Regions from separate parts of the Homo sapiens genome. Here all the other regions are linked to region 5. The links are contacts of gene promoters, found by promoter capture Hi-C in human tissues and cell types (Jung and others, 2019). All regions are on one chromosome and are shown on one strand. Each heading gives the region's core, a stretch centred on a gene start or on the middle of the fragment in contact. The rest is flanking DNA. Distances are from core to core; before and after follow the strand shown. Region 1 has its middle 290 kb from the start of EPHA7. Region 2 has its middle 310 kb from the start of EPHA7. Region 3 has its middle 150 kb from the start of TSG1. Region 4 has its middle 340 kb from the start of EPHA7. Region 5 holds the start of EPHA7 (EPH receptor A7). Region 6 overlaps LOC105377897 (a long non-coding RNA gene). Region 7 has its middle 310 kb from the start of LINC02531.

Region 1 (3,643 bases), core at 1,134-3,633, 290 kb before region 5:
TATTACTTGGCTGAATTTCAATATTGTTATGTCTCAGGGAATAAGGAGGCTTGAGTAGAGGGAAAGAAACAGGGTGGTTAGCCAGTGTAGCAGTCAGAACACACACATTTATTGATCAAGTTCATCATTTTATCTGGGTGCAGTTTGTGGCAAAACAATTACATTGGTATCATCAAAGATCACTGATCACAGATCACCATAGAAGATTTAATAGTACTAAAAGTTTTGAAATATTATAAGAATTACTAAAATTTGACATAGAGGCACAAAATGAGCACATGCTATTGGAAAAAATGGCGCTGATAGACTTGCTCAATGCAGGGTTGCCACAAACCTTCAATTTGAAAAACATGCAGTATCTGTGAAGCAAATAAAATAAGGTATGCCTGTATTGAGAAAGGTAGAGAACTAGCATTTGTTAAATGACACCAGCTATCCTGATAAATACTGTACATACATTGTCCCATTTACTCCTCCAAACAACTATATTATGGAATACTAATATTCTTATTTTGCAGAGAAAAAAACAGATTCTTATACTGTCAGAAAACTTTACCAAATTTGACAACTATTAAGATGCATAATTATGTTAAAATGTGGGTCTATTGCACTCAAGAGTTCCATTTTATTACACCTTGTAATATTGATGGGTTTTAAAGTGAGTATTAAAATAATCTGTACTCAGTATTTAAAAAAATGGATGTGTGCATTGGGTGCAGGAACCCTAAATGAAAAGAGAATAATGTACTGGGGTACATAAGAGTAGAGAACATCATAAATAGCATACTTTGTGTGCTTTTTCTAGTAGGTAGAGGAGTTACTGAATGGTTCCAAGGCGAGAGTAACCTGAAGAGATACGAACATTTTAGAAAGACAACTTGGGCATCAATATATAAGACTGATGGGAAAAGTGTGGTTTGAGATGTGCTAAAGATGTAATATTTTCAAGATTTGAACGCTAATTTGATGTAGGATGTAAGAGGAAATAAATTGTTTAGTCTAAGGCTCAGTTTTTTAACTGGTATACTGAGTAAAAAATGAGGCTGTGGACCAACATAGACATTTCAGGTAGGGAAGCAAGTTTGATACAAAAGAAGATGAATTCAGTCATGTAAATGTATTATTTTTGAGTACTTTTAGATCATCCAGTTGGAGATAGTCACAAATAGTTGGCTGTGTAGGTTTGGCTTTGAAGATTAAGATTTTGTAATTATCATCATAGAGGGGATAGTTGAAGTTATGGAATTGAATTAGTATCCTCAAGAAAAGAATGCAAAATAGTTTCTCTAAGTTAAATGCGGCAAAGTCTCAGTAAAGTCAAAGAGATATAAGCCAGATATTAATAGGTTCAAAATTAACCAGACAATGAGAAAAATGGAGATAGAAAGATTAGACCTTGGATGGAAGGTCAGAAAAAGGGTCAGGATAAGGGTTGAAATTTTGTCATTGTTGTTGTTCTTTTTAATGGTGATGGTGATGGTTCTTACTTTGCTTACTGTTATCATTTAAAGTAAAAACAATATCAGATTATTTATAAGGTTGGAGAAAGGGGCAAATACAGAATGAGATGTCAAAAACTGGGAAGATAGGGATACCTCACAAATGAAAGAAAACTGATGGGAAACTAAGTCAAAATGCAGGTGGAGGTCTGAGTCTTGAATGGGAAATTAAAAATTTCTTCATCTGAGGCTGGAAGAGAAAAGAGGGAGGCAATAGACGAAGAATGTTAGCTACGGAGGTAATAAATTGATACAGTTCAAATCACATATCTTTATTTTTCTTGGAACTATTGGAGGCAAATTTATATGCTGAAAGGTGCTAGAGTTGTTATATAATAAACTGATTATATAATAGAACATTAATTATATAAAACATAATTAGCAAGAGTCAAGGAAGTCACAACCCCATGGCATAAGTAATTTATCAAATGAAAGAGCAACCTCTGGTAATATGTACCTTCCAACTGAAGAAGGATTAGAGGGAGACCTCTTGAACTCAGAAGTATTTCAAATTTCCCACTATCTGACAATTAGTTTTAATTTTGTAGTGCAGGGAGTTTGAGATAATGAAGACAGAAATTGAAAACTACTTTTGGTCAATAAAGTATTGAAAAACGGTATATAAATGATGTGAGTTACTTTCTCTTTTGGGGGATACTTCACATTTGAATTCTCAGTAATTAAAAAAATATATATATAGGGAGGGGGGAGGGATAGCATTAGGAGATATAACTAATGCTAAATGACGAGTTAACAGGTGCAGCACACCAGCATGGCACATGTATACATATGTAACTAACCTGCACATTGTGCACATGTACCCTAAAACTTAAAGTATAATAATAAATATATATTTTATATATATACATATAGAGAGAGAGAGAGAGTGTGAGAGAGAGAGAGAGAGAGAGAGAGAGAGAGAGATAACCAAATACAGATAAATAGGTTTCTCACTCTGCCATATCCATATTACATTTCTCTAGGATCTTTTTTTTTTTTTTTTGAGATGCTCTAGTGTCTAGTATTAGAACCCTTAATCTAAGACTATTTATTATATTTTTTTCTGTAGAATGTATTCCAGAATATGCTACTCATTGGAAACGGTGATAGAAATTTGAAATTGCTCTGAGTTCATAATGAAGAATGACCAACATCTATTATTCATCAAATGAAATTCTCCACTAAACAAAATCCTGACCTTTGTGAAAGTGCTTCTTTAACTTTGTAACTAATGCAATAACCACATGACCTTTGGTGCTCAAAAACCCTTGAGTGGCTCTCTACAACTTCTGCAGATTCTTAAGAGTTGGGTACATGAAATAGCTATTTCTAGGTAAAGTCAACCAGGCCAGTGTGAAAATAAGGTTTGATAAATTATTTCTTCCAGTATTAGAGTTTAAATATGAATTTCTAGGATCTTCCTGATTTTCACCATTGTAGCAAATTTATATGCTTGTGTTAATTTGTGAGAATTTTAATCTGTACATTATCAATATGTAATTAAATTCTACTTGGTTGAATTAAATCTGTTAGATAATTTGGGACAGACATCAAATTTGAATGGCATTTTTACTAAGTTGATAGTTGTTTTACTGACATGGCTGGCATTGGATACAAACAAAATCTCCCTAGTGACTGTAAGATAATTTTTAATACATTGTACTTCATTTTGTGTCAAGCCAAATCTTATTTAACTAGCTATTGCATATCTAGTGACAACAGCAGGCATCATTTGAATTCAAAATCCAACATTGTCCCACACATGAAATACTTTATCCTTTACCTTTAACATAACTGTAGACTTTGGATCAAAACAAAACGTGCATATATGTAAAAATATTACAAATTTTTTTGTAAAGACTTTTTTAAGTAACTGAATAAATCACATAGAGCCAAAAAGAACTCTTTTACTGGAATTATTTGGTGAGTATACACAAATATGAAAATTTTATAAGAATTGAGACAAATTGGTTTTATATGCTTTCAGAGTAAATTTAGGAATAATACATGACTGACTCAAACTTGGTCATTGATGGCATACATCCTGAAGTTTAATTATTGTTATCATTTGGCTAGTCATAGAAGTTTTTTTTATGGTTTAACATTAGAATGTATGTGTGTTTATGTGTACATATATATATGTA
Region 2 (3,706 bases), core at 537-3,036, 310 kb before region 5:
ATATCAGGATGGAAAAAATATCTGTAACTTAGTTAATGCTACTTTGCATACATCTAGTAAATTTCAATTTGTTTTATAATTCCTTTCTGCCATCTGATTAAATATCATACAATGTGGTATATTCAACTAAGTGTTTGTCTAACAGAGTGGTCCCCCAGTACTCACTCAGCCTAGGGTCAACTTTTCAGCAGATGGTGGTCAGGTCTAAACTCTGCCTTTCCCCCGACTCTCTTAAGTTGACGTGATGTACAAATCATGTATTACCTATGATTGTATAATACTGAATGGGGACAGCTGACGATGGACTCCTTCTCTATACCAGTGCATTCTCCCTGTTCCTTTAACTCCTACATTATAACAGAGCACAGGAATAGCTAGCAAGTGAAGAAAAGTTACAGAGGAAGGAAAAGAAGAGCAGTCTTGATACTAGCATAAACGAGAAGAAAAAGAAGACTTCAAAGCAGAGAGTGGCTGGTATAGAACCTTTCTTAATGTTTTTAATATATGTTACTCACTCTGATTTTAAACTTTCATGTCCCCTACTGAATTTAGCATTTAATTATATACCATCTTCTTTTTATTCCTTCTCTATTCAACAAGATTGACTTCTTGAAATCAGAATATCTATTCATTCACTTCTACCTATCTCAAATTAAATATCTTCTATCAAAATACTTATTGATTTATTGATGAGGTACCTGGAAATAATGGAGGTAAAAATTTACTAAATGAACAAGGGGGGAGTGTGACTAGTGTTAGAGCACAGGAATTGGAGACTAGTGATGTATAGCTAATGACACAGTTGAGTCAGTGTCAACCCTGGACTATAATAAAAAGAATCAGATAACATAATTCCATGCACGAAGTAAGTATTCAACAAATGTTTATTAATTAATATATTAATAAATTAAACTCAAACAACTGTTCACTCTTAATTAAGCCCATGCTCACTAATACCAATATCCATTTTAGAGTCATTCTAAAAATGAAATCACTCCTTTTGTTTTTTCCAGTCTCTTGTTTTGGCCATATAAAAAAGCTTCATACAAAGCAGTTGGAAAACATGTGATCCCTGTTAAGCTTGGCAACAGCATTACATCAAAAGCCATTAGTAGCAATAAAAAATTTTTAATTGTTGTTATATATTGGCAGAAGCTGAAAGTTCATAAAAGTACGTGAAAATAATAATTAAAAATACTGTGAGACCAGAACCAGAACATAGAATTGTCTTAGTTGCATTTTGGAATATTCACCATAACTTAGCGTTTCCTAAAGAACACTGGGCCACAATTATCAGTTATCACCATGTGCCAGAGATACAGTTATGGATTCAAATTAAAATAGTAAGAGACATGGGATTAAATGGGAAATCTAGCAGTAACCACAGACATTTCATTGTATCTTTCATATTTGCTGAACATTAGGTCATTTCACCTTTTTTATTTTATTTATTTTATTTTTTGAGACGGAGTTTCACTCTGGTTGCCCATGCTGGAGTGCAACGGCGCAATCTTGCCTCACTGCAACTTCTGCCTCACAAGTTCAAGCGATTCTCCTGCCTTAGCCTCCCAAGTAGCTGGGATTACAGGCATCCACCACCATGCCTGGCTACTTTTTTTGTATTTTTAGTAGAGATGGGGTTTCACCACGGTGGCCCAGCTGGTCTCGAACTCCTGACCTCAGGTGATCAATCCGCCCACCCTGACCTCCCGAAGTGCTGGGATTACAGGCGTGAGCCACCATACCCAGCTTCATTTCACCTTTTTTAAAAGAAAAGTATTATAAATGTTTTGCAGCTGCATTTCTCTCAGCAAACAATGTGGCTAAGTTTTATAGAATTAGTGAAACAGAAGCTGTAACAGTCTTCATCCACATTGACCACTTACTATCTAGAAAATCTTCCTAATCACCATTGTTGTGTCCCTTACCTCATCGTCATGCTCAGATTGACCCGTCTCTATCTCATTGATGGATCTGCTTACGTATTCATTTTAAATTATTTGTGCAAATAGTACACATAGAGATATTCTTCATCTTCTACAATTTCATGCCAGAGGCTTTGGTAAGAATTTATTCTACTTTTTAAACAGCCAATGTCCACCACTAGAAAGTGGCATTCCTTCTATTATGACACAAGATCACTACTTTCTCCAAGTTCTGTGTGGCTTTTTGAGTATTTACTACCAGGCAACATTAAAAATGCATCTTTAATGTTATAGCAAAATGTGAAGCATTGTGAAGTGATTGCTTTCTCCATATTTCCTATTCCAAATAACATCCTAATTCTACATGAGCTGGGTGCGGGAAGTCTGACATCACACATTTTCAGACATTAGTCCTGCCTCCTCAGATTGTACACCACAGTTGTTTGTAATGGAATAACAACCACAACATTTATAAATCACTTTGCAGTTTACAATGCATATTGACATATATGCCATTCACACGAAAACAGATTAGTAATGTTCAGCTGAGTTCAGGATTCTGAAATAATCATTTATCACAAGTATAAAACGATTATGGAACAACTCAGATTTTAAAACAAGGAATAAATGGGGCGCATTGTGCAGCTATGCACTAACTCACCTGATCTGGGCCAGATTTCCATATTTTTATAGGTGGTCCCTTGGCATACCTCATGGATATGTTCTTAATTGGATGTTCCCATCAGAATTACCTGTAAAGCATATACAAATACAGAATCTTGGGCTCAACACCAGCTCTCTAGAGTTATGTTCTGTGTGCAGATAAGAGAGGATTGATTTCCCAATTTGGTACATTTTTACAAAGCTTAATTAGTTGATTCTGAGGCACATATTTGATGGTGGAATTTTGCACTTGCAACGTTTTATTTTATGGAAACAAACACTTTTTATATTTAAAAAAATGTAAGCCTAGGGCAAACTAGTTGACATCTATTCTTTAGAAGTAGCTGATAAATAACAGGAAATAGACTGAATTCAACAGCATGGTGAAACTAGCCATGGGATAGAATGAACTTATTTGCTATTTTTATTAGTGATACCTGTTTCAGTCTTGATATTAAATACTTTTATAAAAGTACATAAGCCTCAATCAATCACATTTACTGGCTAATTTTGACTTTCTCAGTCCCTCCTTTCTTTGCATTCTTTTTAAGTATTTTTTTATTGAACCTGAAATATGAGAAGGAGAGAGAGAGAGAGACATTCAGAACTTTCCGATAAGAATTACCCTAAAAAACCTCTAATGTGTAGTCGTTTGGAGAAGTCTTATCCCGTCCTTGAGTGACTTAATAAATGCTTTTTCCCTCTAAATATTGATATCATTCAAGGTGAATGAATGTGACCATGCTTATCTATTTCAAGCCCTATATATATTTAGTTTTACTGTAAACATTAGTAGATATTGTAGCTGTATATGATGATACTCCTTGTTTTTCATTGGAATAGTAGAATTCACATACATACAAATAATGAACTGGCTGCTAAATCCAAAATATTTTTGATTTGCAAAACCCTTAGACAGGAAGGTCTTAAAAATTTATAAAACAATTATCTCATTGAGACAGCAATTCCTTTGGTTGCCCAGGCTGGAGTGCAGTGACGCAATCATGGCTCACTGCAGCCTCGACCTCCTAGGTTCAAGCAATCCTCCCACCTCAGCCTCCTGAGTAGCTGGGACCACAGGCACGCAACACCACACCAGGCTAATTTTTCTATTTTTT
Region 3 (3,209 bases), core at 228-2,727, 440 kb after region 5:
ATTTCTTCTAGAGTGCAATTTAAATTCAGTATTTCCTTGTTGACTTTCTGCCTCAATGATCCGTCTAGTTTGTCAGTGGAGTGTTAAATTACCTCACTATTACTGTGTTGCTATCTGTATTCTTAGGTTTAGTAGTAAGTGCTTTATGAATCTGAGAGCTCCAGAGTTGGGTGGATATATATATAGGATTGTTATATTTTCTTGTTCACTTCATCCTTTTATCATTATATGACTTTGTCTTTTTAAAAAACTGTTGTTTCTTGAAAGTCTGTTTTATCTAATGTAAGAATAGTTACTACTTTCTATTTGTATGAAATATCTTTTTCTACCCCTTAATCTTGAGTCTATAAGAATACTTACATTAGGTGTATCTCCTGAAGAAAGAAGATATCTAGTTTGTGATATTTTTATCCATTTATCCATCTGTATCTTTTAAGTGGATCATAGAGACCATTCATATTCAATGCTAATATTGAGATGTGAGGTACTCTTCCAGTCATTGTCTTGTTACTAGTGAGTTTGTTTTCTGCATTGTGTTATTGTTTTATAAGCACTGTGAATTTTTGTGCTTTCAGGCATTTCTATTCTGGTGTGTATTGACCTTTAGTTTCAAGATTTAGAGTTCCTTTTAACATTTATTATAAGGCTGGTCTAGTATTGACAAATTTCCTCAGCATTTGCATGTCTGAGAAATACTTTATTTCTCTTTCACTTATGTTTTGTTGTATAGAAAATTCTTGACTGACAGTTATTCTGTTTAAGGAGACTGAAGATAGGACTTCAATCCCTTTGGTCTGTAAGGATTCTGCTGAGGAGTTTGCTGTTAGTCTGATAGGTTTTCTTTATAGGTTACCCGATGTCTTTTTATCACTGCTCTTTAAATTCTCTCCTTCATGTTGACCTTAGATAGCCTGATAACTATATATGCATTGATGACGTCCTTTTTACTATGCATCTCCAAAGAGTTCTTTAGCTTCTCATATTTGGATGTTTTAATCTCTAGCAAGGCCAGAGAAATTTCTCTCAATTATTCTCTCAAATGGGTTTTCCAAACTTTTTGCTTTTTCTTTTGGCATGTTTTCTTTTCCTTGAAGAAAATCTATAATTCTTAGGTTAACCATTTTACATATTCCATATTTCTTGGAGACTTCATTCATTTCTTTTAAGCCTTTCTTCTTTTTGTCTTATTGGGTTAGTTTGAAAGCCTTTTCTTCAAGCTCTAAAATCTTTCTTCTACTTGGTCTAGCTTATTGTTAAAATCTTCTACCGCATTTTGTAGTTTCCTAAATGCATTTCTCATATCCACAAGTTTGGTTTGGTTTCTCATTAAATTATCTATCAGAAGATTTTTAATTCATATCCTGAGTTTTTAAGAAATATTATATATGTTGGTTTTCACCTTTCTCTTGTACGTCTTTGACATAACTAGGACATACAAGAGAAAGGTTGGTTGTGAAATCAACCTTTTGAATTATTTGATATTTAAAGATTTCATCTTGGATGTGATCCACTGCTGGAGAGTTATTGTAATATTTTGGGGGTGTTATAGATCTGTGTTTTTTTGTATTGCCAGAATTATTTTTCTGGTTCTTTCTCATCTGAGTGGACTATTTGCTATGGTTTGGCTGTGTCCCCACCCAAATTTCATCACAAATTGTAGTTTCCATAATCCCCACATGTTGTGAGAGGGACCTGGTGGGAGGTAATTGAATCATGGGGGTGGTTACCCCCATACAGCTTTTCTCGTGTTAGTGAAGAGTTTTCAGGATATCTGATAATTTTATAAGGGGTTTCTCCCTTTTTGTTTGACATTTCTCCTTCCTGTCATTAAGTGAAGAAGGATGTGTTTGCTTCCCCTTCCACCATGATTGTAAGTTTCCTGAGGCCTCCCCAGCCATGCTAAACTGTAAGTCTATTAAAACTTTTTCTTTTATAAATTATCCAGTCTTGGGTATGTCTTTATTAGCAGCGTGAGAAGAAACAAATACACTCTCTCTTATAATTATTTATTCATTCGTTCATTCATTCATTAGTCCTTTAGTTCTTTAGTGGTGATTTCTGAGATTTTGGTGCACCCATCATATTTTTTATTCAATTGGGTTTTTATTTTTTCCCATGAGGTTGTGACTTTATAGTTTATTATCATCTAGTTTCGCCTCTAGTTTCTTTCAGTGGTAATGACTCTATATGAGTTCCTTGGTTACAGAGAATTTTTGTATAATGACTTTCTCAGATGCTGGTTGTAGTAGTGATGTGCTGGGTATGTTAGCAGGTTCACTGTCTTCTCTGGGGAATTTTTCCTCTGGTTCCCTCTGTAGGCTGCTGTTAACTGCTTCTTTCAAAGGGTCTGTGGTTTCTTTCCTATTTTCCTGTTACATTCCTGTATAATTTCTTGGAAAAACATTCACAATGTGGATCTCTACACAAGATTTCATCTTTCCAAGTAGGAGAGACATGCTAACAATGCCTCCAATCTGCCCTCTTCGAAAAAAAGCTTGGTTTGTGTTTCTGATGATATTTTTGAATAATACTTTTAATAAATATTATTGTGGATGATGCACAGGATCCCCTTAGAGAATAAAGGAACTCATTCCTAAAGCTTTTTAGAATGTGCATACTGACAGCATACACATAATCTTTTGCTGGGAATTGCCCTTGGCCAAAATGAACTGCCTCACCTGGGGTCTCACACTTTCTCAAGGAACAGGTCATATAATATGACTGGTTGATGATGAGTACAAAGGCTTGCTCCCCTACTTTAACTGAGGACATCTCTGAAGGGCTGTTTTAGCTCCAGAGTCCCCAGTGTTGGAACTATCCATATACTCAATTATTCTTCCTTCATTTCTTTACACATGCGGTTCCCCAGAGGACACCCTAATAAATCTCTAAGTGTCAATTTCCAAATTTCTTATTAAAAAACACTTTTATATAAAAAGACACTTGGGCTAACATATGATACTTACTAATAACTTGTGAATAGGGTCACCTGGGAATAATGATGTTTGCAATTACTTAAGAATAACCTAATATCATGTTTAAACATGTGTGGGTAATGCTGCAATGCAGTATCTAGCTCCCTTTACAGGATTGAAGGAACTCTTTTTCAAGCTGCTGGGAATGGAGTCATAGTTTTTAGCCCCCTTTTTATATAAAGAAAACTGCCTCACCCAAGGCCATGCCACATTCTGTGGGCAGTGTGCATTCCA
Region 4 (3,307 bases), core at 255-2,754, 340 kb before region 5:
CCTTTAAGAAGAAAGCAATTAATAAAGAAAAAGAAAACTCATGGATAATGATAAGGTAAATGTTTTCATACCTACAGTACAGCCCTATAGAATCAAGGGAATTGAAAAATGGGTCATCATTCTTTATCTTGAAGAGATTTAGTTCACTGACTTTAGGGGTATGTAGAAATTTATACATACAGAAATTCTGAGAGACTGAATTGTAGCCTAAGAAAATGGCTTAATTATTGTGATACTAAATAACTCTACACTCATAAAAGGCCTAAAGCAGTTGCCATATTGTTCTTGCCCATTTCTCTGCAAGCTTAAGCTTTACATGATTTCAGTCTGAAGACAAAACTGATTAAATGTTTATCTTGTTATTCTCAAGCTTCTTAATCTTTAATCTCATCTAGATTTAAGTCCTTAAGCCAGTTTAGTAGTTACAAAGATTCTGGAGATAGAACTGAAAGACTATTAGGCTGAAAAAGAAATTATACTTAAGGAAAAACCTCATAAGAATTGAAATTCTATGATAAAAAAATGAAGGCAATACCAACCGTACACTACCAAGAAAAGGTTGATAAGATACAATTCTTAGCATGTTGGGAAGTAAAATAGACTTGTGAATAAAAACATACACTGCTGTGCTTGATTTGCACCCCTTGAACCCTCTCGGATGCTAACTAGCAATGTGACATTGCCCATTTTATGTAACCTCTCTGAGTCGAAAGCTTTATTTTCTATGAATTAGGATAAATAATACATACCTCAAAGTATTGCTGAGAATATTTAATGGCACCTGGTTTCTGATTTATGATAAGCAATGGAGGTAATAAATGGCAGAATTTCCTCCACCCAAACACTGCACAAAATGAAATACGTGTCAGATATGTATTACAACATACAAGATAATTTTTAAAAATTTTCTTTGATTCAAAATAAAAATGTTATGTGTCCTCCGTAAGGTGATAAACCTAAATCAAAATTAACTGTACACACTTAGTGTAGGCCTCTAGCTTAAATTATGTATGCTGGACTGTATCATTAAAGGAAAATATTTTTAAGAACATAAAGCATTTAGTGGTATTCCATAATACGTTACAAACTGCATTTTTCATGCAAACCATTAGTCTGCATATGATAAGCAAATGCATTTTCAAGAAAGACTAAAACTTGTGAAGTTAAATTTTTAATGTAACCCTGGTCTTCTATTAAAATTTGTTTATGGAATAAATGGGAGAGCTCCCAAGTTATCTGTGTCATGCTGGTTGTGCCTGATTTTATTCTACTTCTTTTATAGTAACTTTAGAAAACTTTGTTTTATATAATTATTTTTCTTTTTTGCAGAAGATGTTTTTATATAATAATTTTACACAATTACATCCTTGTGAACAGATCTTGTGTCACACTACTCGATTGTCTTTGATTTATTCTGGAAAAGAGATAGGGAATGTATAAACTCCTGCAGACTGCCACTTTGCTTTCCTATAGCTTAAAAAAATCACATCCATAAAGTAGTATTCATGAAATGTTCACCCTTCATAAGGCAAGAAGAAATAAGAATTGGAATATTATGTGGATATCTATGCTTTTATCAAAAGGGGCTGACCTTCCTCTGCAGTAACATATTATGCAAATGAAAAGAATTATTAGAAAATAACATAACAAGTAGCACAAGAAATCTCAGCTGCACTCATGGCACATGTTAATTTCATTGGCAATATAATCCAAAAATCAGATGGTTTAGGGCCTCACTGTCTAGGCTTTGGACTCAGACCAACCTTGGTTTGAATCCCGGATCTGCTCATCACTACATTTGGGACTACAGACTACTTATTTAACCTTTCTAAGCGTCAGGTGCCTCATCTGAAAAATGAATGGTCCCTATTTGAAGAATTGTGATAACTACAATTCTTAGCATATTGTATTCTACAAACTTAGCATATTGCTATTCTACAAACTTAGCATATTGTATTCTACAAACTTAGCATATTGTATTCTACAAACTTAGCATATGCTATTCTACAAACAGTGTATTGTTCTGGACATGTTGATAAACATTAGGTAACATTATATTATATGTGTGATGGGAGATGGGGGAAAAGAGAAAGGGTAGGAGATAGGGTGGGGTAGTAGTGGTGCTAGAATATTCTATTATGTTTTTCTGTTTTTCAGTCTTGCTTTAAAAAATTAATTATAGGGAATCAACTTTTTCATAATATGCCTTTTTCAGGTATTGAAAAGAAAGCCATTAAATGAAATATGGCTTATTTTGGCTTATCTTGACGCCCACAATTTTGCCATTTTATTACCAATTACTAAGTAGTCTCCTTCTCTCCTAATAGATACATTTCTAAATTTGGCACTAATTCACTTAGTAGATTTGGCAGGAGAAATTATTTGTTAATGTCAAATCTAAGAAACAGGCTTCCTCTCTTAGCTTTGTACTGACCATAAGTGCAATATTGGTAACATCTTCAATATTATATATATAATATTGGAGGTTTGGGAGTCCCCAAAATAATATTCTTTTTCTCCACCTGGACTTGAAGCAAATTGGGAAAGAAAGTAAACAAGGTGGCAAAACAAAACAAACTTTCCATCGATGATAAAGCTGAGATTAGAGTTAGAGTTTATATATGCAGCATTATTGAGCTTCCTAACTGCATTGGAGTTAGTCTTGCTTCTCCTATCTCTGAATACCACCTCCTTCCCCAAACCACAAAATAGCACTGTGAGCCTGGAACCCATTGCCACTGAAGGGGCTGAGTGTGTCTTATAGCACAGCATGTGTTCTTTAGACAGCTCACTCCTAACAAAAAAGAGAGGAGGGACCTGGCCACTTTCTCTTAGATTCCTGTTAGGTCTGGTAGGTCTCTCTTCCACCCCAGAGAAGGGATGATGGAGTGGCTGGGGAGAAACCAGTAGTGTTATGCTAATGTATGTCTCTCTAAATGTTAAAGAACTGTTAGGAAAAAAGAATTAAATGTATCTCACTAGAATACCTCACTTTAACCCTTGATTATGCTATTATCCCATTTAGACTGTTATTTCCCAACGAGTGCCTATTGCCCTCAGGGATGGGATGTAGAACAACAAGCTAAACGGACAGCTACTCTCATGTTTCCTCGTTTATGCTCCTAATGCCAACTACTACTCTTCTGGGTGTTCTCTTAGGGGAACATATAATGGAAAATACTTGGCCACCCAAAAATGATTTAAATCATTATGTGATTGATCTACATTAGATCAACTGCAAGATCACTCTGTACCTAAAGCTAAAGTACACTGTCTGCTCTATTTCCTATCCCAACTGATGTCTATT
Region 5 (3,385 bases), core at 792-3,291:
AGAAGAGCAAAGAGAACTAGACATTCTGGCTGCAGGAACCTCTCCCCCTAGTGATGCAGTTATTTATAGCCCAAACTCCAGCCCGAGTCTGCGTGTGTTCGCGCGCGGGGTTTCGCCGCGGCGGTGCAAACTTTTCCTCTGGTCCGCTATTCCAGAGGAATCACAGTATGCCAGGGCTGAAGGTTTCTGATCGCTAACGTCAGGGGAGTAGAAATGTGGTTTTGGAGGGGATGAGCGTGCGTTTCTAGCAGATGTCCGTCCTTCTGCAAACGCGTAACCGCCAGCTTGGAGGCACGGGGTTCTCTGAATGGGTTCAGCATCTATACAGGTTGCAGATGTGGAAAGTGGGGTCAGAAGGTCAGGCTGAAAGAAGGACTAGAATTTGGCGCCGGGTTTGAGGGGGGCTTGAGCGAACTAAGAGGAGTGCACGATGAGAATAAAGAAAAGGTGCACTAAGTTTTCAGAAATAGATGAATCAAGGACCTATATGTAAGTCCCCTCAACACCCCGCCCGATAACCACCATGACCTAAATTTCATAACAGATTCCTCTCCCTCTACACATCAGGAATAAGTAATTATTTCTCTTCTGCTTTTAACAGATCGAAAAATGAAACTTAGATACACAGCCTGAAAGACCAGGGGGGCGACGGGATGAGGGGGGTTGGGGATGGGATTGTGACACTGCTCAAAAGCAAGAGACTTCCATTGACAGGGTTTATTTTTCCCCAGCTCCAACTACAGGCACCGAAAGGTATTTTACCTTCTGTCAAAGGTTCAAAGAAGGAAAACATAACCATATACAGGCGTATCTGTAACAGCTTGCCAAATAAAACCTGCCTTCTCCTACCAGAACCAACCCTCAGGGTTCAGGTCTTTGGCAAGGATTGGGCACTCGGATTCCTCAATTGCTGCACTATGGGGCAAATAATTGGGGACTTTGAGTCGCCCAGGCGGCATCCTTACAAATTGCACAGCTCCAGCCCGCCCCCTGCCTCCACGGCCCGACCAAGCCCGCTGGGCTGCCGCTGCCCCCATGACCGCTGGGCCCGACGCGCAGCGCGCGCTGAATGGAGACATCCCCGGCCCTCGGGTCGCGCGCCGCACGCCGCGCTTCACCTCCGCGGCGTTATTGTTCCGTGCTGGCGGCCGAGCGCCAACCGCAGGACCGCGCCGCCGCCTCCGACGCAGTGAGCACTTCATTAGTAACCCGAGCTTTCCGAGCTCATCGAAGTCTCGGTCCCTCTGGGAAGGCTCCGGGCTCCCGCCACTCGCCGGCGGGCTGGCGGAGACGGTAGGGGCTGCATTTCCCAGTCTCCAACCCAACTCTGGCCGCAGCTCCCACAGAAGGCGAATAAGGAGACAAGGAAGACCGAGCTAGAGAGAGATGTGACCCGCCTGAGGTACTAAGAAATAAGCTCGCCGGCAGTTCCTCCAACCCCACCCCACCCCCGTTGCTGCTCACGCCCTCCAGACTGCCCGCGCCAGAAATCCCGCACCCGTCGGATGGACGGCTCCGGGCACAGGGCTGTAGGCGGCTCGGAACAGCCCTGGTTCGCGCTCGCTGGTCCGCCAGGAGCGGCCTCAGCGGTGAGGGGGCGGGGAGCCGGCGGGGGAGGGTCGCCCGGCGCCGGAGGCGCGGCCGGCAGCGCCGCGGACGAGCTGGCTTGTGCAGGTAGACATCTAAATAAATAAGTCAGAACAAACTTTGCTTTCCCATCACCTTACCTTCCTTCGCAGCCTGCGCCTCCCCTGTGTGTGCAAAGCGGAGCAGCCAGATGTAGCATAAAATAATCCATGAAGGGTACCGAGTTTGAAAAACCATGGTGCATGAGCAGGTTTTATTTTAGGTTTCAGTTATCTTGAGTCGTGGATTTTTAAATGCTGTTTGTTCCGAAGTAGCTTTTGTTTTATTGTGCTCCTTGCATCGATTCCCCTTCTCGGTCCCCGATCGGCTGCTCCACGTTTAGCTTTTTTTAATTTCCCCCCCACTCCTGTTCGCTCGCACCGTGTTTGCTGCCTGCAAGTCTCCGACTGCAGACCGGCCGCTTGCTCCACACTCCAATAATATCAATTAGGGGGGGAGGGGGCGGGGCTCCGAGCTGAGAGCCTCCGCCACTCGGGCTGAGTGGCAGGCACAGCCGGCCTGCCAGGAGGCGATTCCCAGGGCCAAGGGGCGGGTCCCGGCGAAATGGCCGCCCCGGCCACGGGGGCGGGGTCCGAGGCAGGAGCCAATCGGTGCCGAGCGGAGTCAGGTTGCTGGTCCAGGATTCCCTCCAGGTTCTGAGCTCGCGCTGGATGTTCAGAGGAGAACGAGGATGGTAGCCGAGGTGTGTGCTGCTTTGGACGCTCTGCTTTTAGCAACCGCAGCTTTCGCGTAGCAGAATAAATCCGAGAATAACGCTCCCAACTTACACTCTTTTCTATAGCTGTACTCCGCGCGATCTTTTAGAAACCAGAGGCGAAGCAAGCCTTCTCTCAGCTACCAAGCACGGAGCCCGGACAGTGAAATGAGCTGTGCCTTTAAGTAAAGTGTGTTTTACTTTTTTGTTGTTAGAACCTCCGCGGGCTGGGTAACTTTGTTTTTTGCCTTTTTGAAAAGTTTCTACTTCTCTTTTTCTGTTACTCCAAGAGCCGTCAGTTTTAGGTACCACCCACCACAATCCCTGAAAGAATAAAGTAACCAAGTGTATTATGTTTAAACAATGTTTCCAAGAGTTTGCAACAAGCTCTGGCAAAAGAAACAGAGGAAAAGGGAGTGGGAAAGGAAGTCTTTTGTTTTAAGCGCCCCTTCTCCTCCGCCCTGTCTTTTCACCATAGTTTGTTGAGCGAAGTGAGACATTAGGAGAGAACCTTCTGATGGTTGCGTATCGTTTTTTTACGCGTTTATCATTTTCTAAGGTTTTCCTTGGATTGCCTCCACTTTGATAGTTTTCCATTTCGCTGCATAAATTACACTGAATTTTAAAGAATGCCACTACGTATTAAATTCATAAAGCAAGACCTTTCTCTTCGCAAGTATTTACCATTTTCAGGAATTATTCAATGCTTATCTTTCAAAGAGAAACTAAGAATAAAAAAAGTCATAACCAATATCTCCAGTTGAATTCATTCAACCCGAACGGCAAGGAAGGCTGCGTAGAGAAATCTGTTTTCCATTAGGCAGTTTCGGACACTTTGTATTCAAGAGGTAGGTAATAAGAGGAAGAACTTTAAAATTTTAATTGCCAAATCTTCAATTTCAAAGGTCACACAGAGTAACTTGATCACATGTTTAAGATGAATTTCTTTTTTTGTCCTATAATTTCTTCCTTTAAAAATATTTCTCAGTCATTTATGATTTCCTTTTATTTCCGATAGATCCAAAGTTTGATCTCACATAAGGC
Region 6 (3,701 bases), core at 680-3,179, 440 kb before region 5:
ACCTCTGAAGTAAATTGACTTTCAGGGAAGCTAAGGGATTCATTTTTTTTTATTTTTTTGAGACACAGTCTCACTCTGTTGCCAAGGCTAGGGTGCAGTGCCACTATCTTGGCTCACTGCAGCCTCCGCCTCCCAGGTTCAAGCAGTCTCCTGCCTCAGTTTCCTAAGTAGCTGAGATTACAGGCACCCACCTGTACATACATACATCCAGCTAATTTTTGTATTTTTACTAAAGACAAGGTTTCACAATGTTGGCCAGGCTGGTTTTAGACTCCTGGGCTCAAGCTATCTGCCCCCCTTGGCCTCCCAAAGTGCTGGGATTACAGGTGTGAGTCACCGCACCCTGCTGGGATTTCTTTTTTGTTTTTTTGTTTTTTGTGTCTTTAAGGTGAAGGTTGCTAGAACTTATCCAAAATTTGCACTCCTATAGCTGGTGAATTCCCTGATATGTAAACTGTATGTGAGGGATTTATAAATACACTGAGGGATTTGTAAGCTTAGCATCGAAATGTTGTCCCTTTTGATCAAATTTAGGCCTGAGAGCATGAGATCGTCATCCTTCCCAGTGAGCTCTGGGAAGGTCTCCAAATTAGCAATGGTGCCTTCAAAATCATGGAACTGCCTCACCTACAGGATATTTAAGAAATAAACTTCAAAGGTGATGCTAACACTCAGAAGGTGAGTAGATTCCAGTTCTATGTAAGACTAATGTAGAAAATTCTTTAGACTGCATCCACTTCTGGGAAACATGGGATGGTGACGCTCAAAGATAGTGTCCCAATAAGAATGTACAGTGAGCTAAATGGTTAGTTAGAAAAACAAAATAAATTTAACAGGATTCTTATCCCTTTCTCCAACTCCAATTTGTATAGTGGTTTATGGTGTTTTCACAAGTAATTTGCCCAAAGTGCAAAGCTAATAAAAATGAAGCTAGAATTTATTTCTACATCACTGTGATTCTAAATACAAAATTTACACCATGCTGTGTCATCTCTCACAATTTAAGTGATAAAAATAGTTTTGATACAAATATTTATATAAAATCATAAATTGCTTTCTATTTGGTTTGATGAAATACGTAATTGGTTCATATTGTCTTTTTATATGTATTTTTTCCCTTTATATTTTTCTTAACAAAATGCATGAATCATATTTGCCTTTTTCAAACATATTGAAAATATAAATCTACCTAGTCTTTTTGGGCCTATAAAGTTGATGAAAAAAAGAATAAAACAAATATTAATTTCATTTACTTTTCTAGCTCTTTATTTACTAATGGGATGTTGCATTACTAGTAAATTGATATGACTGTTTTTTTAATATCAAATGCACTCACATACAGTATGACACTATATGTCGAACCTATCTTATTGAACAAAGAGAATAGGGTGAAGGATTTTCCCAGAAAGAGAGCATGAAATAAAACGGATGGTGTGGGGAGGACTTTTAGTGATCTTCTAGTCCTGTTATCCCAAATATTTGAAACTGCCTCTTTTGGAATTTCCTCCTGACGAAAGAATATTCATCTCACCCTATTGATGTGGCCAATGAAATATGAGAGAAAGTGGAATGTGCCACTTCCCTTCAGAAACTTTGAGAATGATTGGTTAACCCACTATTCCACTAGCCCATATCAAAGATAAAGGATGCTCCATTATTCTGCACTCTGGAGTAAAGAGCTAAACTGACCCATGGTGGACAAATAGCATGGGTAAGAGTTACGTGGTTGTTATTAAGCCACTCAGATTTGGGGTGTCATTTATTACCACAGCCTGATTTAGCTAAGCTGATTATATAGAAAGTAGAACCCAAAAGTGTAATGCTTCCCCAACAAAAAATAAAAAATATTGGCTTTAGGGTGTCAGATAGTGGACAGTGAGAAAACTGTTAATGAAGGTTGGAAATATACTGACCTATGTTTGCAGTAGCAAAACAATTGATGAACCTATCATCTGTTATATCTTAGCAGATAATGTACATTTTGGCTTTGATTGTAGAAGGGGGAAAATAGGATTTTAATAGCAGCATGAGTTGGTTGCATTTGACAAGGTACTACAAAATGAAATGCACACAGAATAAACTTGGGCAGGCTGCAGACATGCTTGGAAGGCAATTGAGAAAGTCCTGAAATTCCAGGATGTGTAAGGCTAGAAGATGCAAATGATATCATTTCCAATAAGTAAAGCGTTTAACTAAGAAGGCCTTTGATAAACTATGGCTGATTATAACTTAGTTTCCCTAAAATTGGAAAACAAATCAAGGTATGTTTACAACTCCCTTTTTTAGAAAGGGACAAAATAAATGTTTTTTTAAAACTCTCTGAATCTAGAAACTAATATTTTTCAGTTGGTTCAAATAACTCCAAAAAGACACTAAAAGTATAACTATTGTGAGAAGACTGATAGACTCAAACCAGCAGAAAATACATCGAGAGAGAGAAAGACTGAGAGACTTGTTTTACTAAAAAATGTGGATTTGGATTATTCAAATAGAGAGTTGATTGTAACCAAATAGATAAAAAACTGACTCGTGATGATGAGCATTTTCTCATGTGTTTTTTGGCTGCATAAATGTCTTCTTTTGAGAAATGTCTGTTCATGTCCTTCGCCCACTTTTTGATGGGTTTCTTTGTTTTTTTCTTGTAAATTTGTTTGAGTTCATTGTAGATTCTGGATATTAGCCCTTTGTCAGATGAGTAGGTTGCGAAAATTTTCTCCCATTTTGTAGGTTGCCTGTTCACTCTGACGGTAGTTTCTTCTGCTGTGCAGAAGCTCTTTAGTTTAATTAGATCCCATTTATCAATTTTGGCTTTTGTTGCCATTGCTTTTCGTGTTTTAGACATGAAGTCCTTGCCCATGCCTATGTCCTGAATGGTAATGCCTAGGTTTTCTTCTAGGGTTTTTATGGTTTTAGGTCTAACGTTTAAGTCTTTAATCTATCTTGAATTGATTTTTGTATAAGGTGTAAGGAAGGGATCCAGTTTCAGCTTTCTACATATGGCTAGCCAGTTTTCCCAGCACCATTTATTAAATAGGGAATCCTTTCCCCATTGCTTGTTTTTCTCAGGTTTGTCAAAGATCAGATAGTTGTAGATATGCGGCGTTATTTCTGAGGGCTCTGTTCTGTTCCATTGATCTATATCTCTGTTTTGGTACCAGTGCCATTAGAGAAATGCAAATCAAAACCACAATGAGATACCATCTCACACCAGTTAGAATGGCAATCATTAAAAAGTCAGGAAACAACAGGTGCTGGAGAGGACGTGGAGAAATAGGAACACTTTTACACTGTTGATGGGACTGTAAACTAGTTCAACCATTGTGGAAGTCAGTGTGGCGATTCCTCAGGGATCTAGAACTGGAAATACCATTTGACCCAGCCATCCCATTACTGGGTATATACCCAAAGGACTATAAATCATGCTGCTATAAAGACACATGCACACGTATGTTTATTGCGGCATTATTCACAATAGCAAAGACTTGGAACCAACCCCAATGTCCAACAATGATAGACTGGATTAAGAAAATGTGGCACATATACACCATGGAATACTATGCAGCCATAAAAAATGATGAGTTCATGTCCTTTGTAGGGACATGGATGAAATTGGAAAACATCATTCTCAGTAAACTATCGCAAGAACAAAAAACCAAACACCGCATATTCTCACTCATAGGTGGGAATTGAACAAAGAGATC
Region 7 (3,215 bases), core at 147-2,646, 380 kb before region 5:
TGACACATACACCCTCCCAAAACTAAACCAGGAAGAAGTTGAATCCCTGAATAGACCAATAACAGGCTCTGAAATTGAGGCAATAATTAATAGCTTACCAACCAAAAAAAGTCTAGGACCAGATGGATTCACAGCCAAATTCTACCAGAGGTACAAGGAGGAGCTGGTACCATTCCTTCTGAAACTATTCCAATCAATAGAGACAGGAGATGTGTTAGTCTTTTTTAAAATACAACTTGCAACTCTATGCCATTTAAATAGGGCTTTTAGACTGTTTAAGTTCAAGGTTATTTTGATATGTGAAGTTTTGATTCTATCACTATATCATTAGTTGGTCACTTTGTAGTTTCTATTTGCTTTGTAGTTTCTGGTTGCTTTTTTAGAGTCTGTGGGCTATGTAATTGACATGTTTTTGTGGTAACAAGTTTTGTTCCTTTGTGTTCATGTCTAGAACTCCCTAAATGTGCCTTACAAGGCAGGTCTAGTGGTAACAAATTCCCTTAGCACTTGCTTGTCTGGAAAACATTTTATTTCTTCTTCACTTATGAAGGCAGGGTATAAAATTGTTGGTTGGAATTTCTTTTCTTTAATAATGCTGAAAATAGGCCACCAATCTCTGCTGTCTTGTAAGGTTTCTGTTGAGAAGTTCACTGTTAACCTGAAGAGGTTCCTATTGTATGTGATCTGACCTTTTTCTCTAGCTGTCTTTAAGTTTTTTCATTAGCATTGACCTTGGATAGTCTGGTGACTATATGCCTTGGTGATATTCATTTTGTAAAGTATCTTGTGGGTCTTCTCTGGATTTCTTGTATCTGGATGTTCCCTCTTTAGCAAGACTAGGGAAATTTAATTGAATTATTTCCTCAACTATATCTTTTTGGTTGTTTATTTTTTCTCCTCTCTCAAGAATGCCAATAATTTGGAGGTTTGATTGCTTTATATAATCTTATACTCCTTGAAGATTTTTAAAAATTATTTTCTCTTTATTTTTGTCTGACTGGGTTAGTTCAAAAGATTGTTCTTCAAACTTGAAATTCTCTCTTCTGCTTAATCCAGTCTATTGATAAAAATCTCAATTGTATTTTGGCAGTTTTAAGTGAGTTTTTCAATATCAGAAGCTTGGCTGACTTATTTTTTAAGATGTTTATCTGTTCCTTCATTTCCTGGATTGATTTAGAAGTTTCTTTGTGTTGATTTTCAACTTTGTACTGGATCTCATTGAGCTTCCTTGCAATCCATGCTTTGAGTTATTTATCTGTCATTTCTGAATTTCCATTTTGATTATGGACCATTGGTGGAGAGATAATGAGAGGCTTTGGTAGTGTCACTACATTCAGTTTTTTCAAGAAAATCTTGTGTGGGTTCCTTCTCATCTGGAGACACTGGCATTTCTACTTTCTATTATTTTTGTATGAGTAGGACTATTTTATTTTCCTATTATATTATTGGGTTTTTTTTTTTTCCCCTTTCCCACCTCCCTTGTGAATGTGACTGTAGAGAATGCTTCTGTAGACATACACACTTTTTTCAGCAGGTTTCATAATGGGCTGTGTCATTCAACCTACAAGCCAGTAGATGGCACTTATGGGTAAGAGTCAGCTATGGCCAACATGCCTGTTACTGGGTGTGTATTAATACTTAATCCTTGTTTACCAGGAGATATTCTCTGTTGCCTCAGACATTGGGCTGATCTATGGAGTACACAGTGGCCTGAGTACCCTGCTCAGCCCAGAATGTACAGGGGCAAGATGGGCAGGGTCATACCAGGCAGGACCACTACAAGTATTCTGGTTGCGGGCACATGCACCAGCACTGGGGGAGAATCCATTGGGTAACTAACAAGTGTTCAGAGATGTGCCTAGGTGTGGAACTAGGAAACCTCCTTAGCCTCAAGCTCTCTGCAAGGGGATGGGTGCTGCCTAAACTACTAATTCAGAAGAGTGGGTGCCTGAAGATCTGCTTGGGCATGGAGTGTAGAGGGTCCCACTGAACAATCTCCTCACAGAAATGCAGTGGTGGCTCAGGGTGCTAATTCAGGCAAACAAATGTTCCTATTGCCTGGAGACCTGCCTGGGCATGGGGTAGAGAGAGCCCCACTGCACCACAGTCTCTACATAGAAAGGGTGGGCTGGCTTAGGGTACTGGTGCAGATATATGGGCGCTCTGAGTGCCTGGAGATCTGACTGGGTCAAAAGCAAAGAGGGCCCCCATGCACCCAGATCACTGCACAAGAAGGGTAGGGTAACAGAAGCTGCCAATCTGGGCAACTCGGTGCTCTGAATGCCTGGGCATAGAGTGGAGAGGGCCCCACTGCACCACAGTCTCTGCACAGGAAGGGTGGGGTGGTTCAGGTTGCTGATCCAGGTGAGTGTGTGCTCCAAATGCCTGGAGATCTGCCTTTATCAAGCAGATGTATTCGCAGGGGCTGTTTCCCCACATTCTTCTCCCTTTAATCTGGAATGTAGTTCATGGTTCCAGTGGATTCTGTTTTCTTTGTTGAACTAAAGCTCACAGAGTTGATCTTCATGCACTATCTTGCTATTTCCAAATGGCTAAGGCACACTAAAAGCCTCTTATACACCATCTTAGGGGGAAAAAAACCTAATGCTCAAAAATACCTACTTTTTATAAAGTTTGGCCCTTACATACTATTCAGCTACTTCTTTTAGTGCTCAGATAATAAATCAGTGATGAATTTTCCAGCAGGATTTTCAGAAGAATTGTCAGGCAAGGTGGTGCCTAGCATAGCTCAGGTTCCCCTAACATTTAGTGGACTCATGTGACAAGGCTCCTGCACAAACTCTCTCCCTAGAGTTGCCCAAGTTTCCTTCATGTTCCCATGGAGCCACTTAAAACAATATCTGACAAGGCTAAGAATCACTGGAAAGAAGTTGGTGCTACAAGTGTGAAAAGCAAACTGAACTGCCTGGCCAGGCTGCAACAGCTTCCCATTTCACGTTGCAGTTTAACTTTGAGCAGTTAAGAAATCCCTCTCTCATGCTGTAAGACACTAGCTAAGGGATAGTTTCTCAAAGACCAAGGATGGTTTGATAGCTTTTCTCTGTAGTGCTTCCATTTTTTCAGTCTTTCTACTCCATTTATCAGGAAAACTATTCTGTGGACGTGACATCATGAAATTTTTTTCCAATCCTTAGTTATTTCTTTAAAAAGCCTGCATAAAGGCCAGATAAAAAAAGACTTATGGGGCCACCTGT

The links. The method cuts DNA at HindIII sites, captures the fragments that hold promoters and counts their contacts. A contact is called where the count stands out against the background at its distance.
Region 1: a contact is called between a fragment that was not itself captured here and the fragment with the promoter of EPHA7 in region 5, in 3 of the 25 tissues and cell types used here (H1 embryonic stem cells, heart right ventricle and mesendoderm cells).
Region 2: a fragment that was not itself captured here is called in contact with the fragment with the promoter of EPHA7 in region 5 in 1 of the 25 tissues and cell types used here (mesendoderm cells).
Region 3: a contact is called between a fragment that was not itself captured here and the fragment with the promoter of EPHA7 in region 5, in 1 of the 25 tissues and cell types used here (dorsolateral prefrontal cortex).
Region 4: a contact is called between a fragment that was not itself captured here and the fragment with the promoter of EPHA7 in region 5, in 2 of the 25 tissues and cell types used here (mesenchymal stem cells and mesendoderm cells).
Region 6: a contact is called between a fragment that was not itself captured here and the fragment with the promoter of EPHA7 in region 5, in 1 of the 25 tissues and cell types used here (mesenchymal stem cells).
Region 7: a contact is called between a fragment that was not itself captured here and the fragment with the promoter of EPHA7 in region 5, in 1 of the 25 tissues and cell types used here (mesenchymal stem cells).

What each region holds. Positions count from the first base shown.
Region 1 is chr6:93,128,414-93,132,056 of GRCh38, forward strand. No RefSeq gene overlaps it. Among named protein-coding and RNA genes, the nearest start is that of EPHA7, 290 kb to the right of the region's middle. The HindIII fragment of the contact is 5,337 bases long and covers 1-3,643 here.
Region 2 is chr6:93,109,605-93,113,310 of GRCh38, forward strand. No RefSeq gene overlaps it. Among named protein-coding and RNA genes, the nearest start is that of EPHA7, 310 kb to the right of the region's middle. The HindIII fragment of the contact is 3,561 bases long and covers 7-3,567 here.
Region 3 is chr6:93,854,526-93,857,734 of GRCh38, forward strand. No RefSeq gene overlaps it. Among named protein-coding and RNA genes, the nearest start is that of TSG1, 150 kb to the left of the region's middle. The HindIII fragment of the contact is 3,274 bases long and covers 1-3,114 here.
Region 4 is chr6:93,076,413-93,079,719 of GRCh38, forward strand. No RefSeq gene overlaps it. Among named protein-coding and RNA genes, the nearest start is that of EPHA7, 340 kb to the right of the region's middle. The HindIII fragment of the contact is 7,607 bases long and covers 1-3,307 here.
Region 5 is chr6:93,417,518-93,420,902 of GRCh38, forward strand. It overlaps EPHA7 (EPH receptor A7), which reads right to left and starts at 2,042. Exons shown (of 17, transcript NM_004440.4): 1 at 1,728-2,042. The coding sequence starts at 1,824. RefSeq lists a silencer at 2,090-2,289. The HindIII fragment of the contact is 11,378 bases long and covers 1-3,385 here.
Region 6 is chr6:92,980,720-92,984,420 of GRCh38, forward strand. LOC105377897 (a long non-coding RNA gene) reads left to right here. Exons shown (of 5, transcript XR_942787.2): 3 at 535-678. Among named protein-coding and RNA genes, the nearest start is that of LINC02531, 260 kb to the left of the region's middle. The HindIII fragment of the contact is 6,274 bases long and covers 1-3,701 here.
Region 7 is chr6:93,035,426-93,038,640 of GRCh38, forward strand. No RefSeq gene overlaps it. Among named protein-coding and RNA genes, the nearest start is that of LINC02531, 310 kb to the left of the region's middle. The HindIII fragment of the contact is 8,389 bases long and covers 1-3,215 here.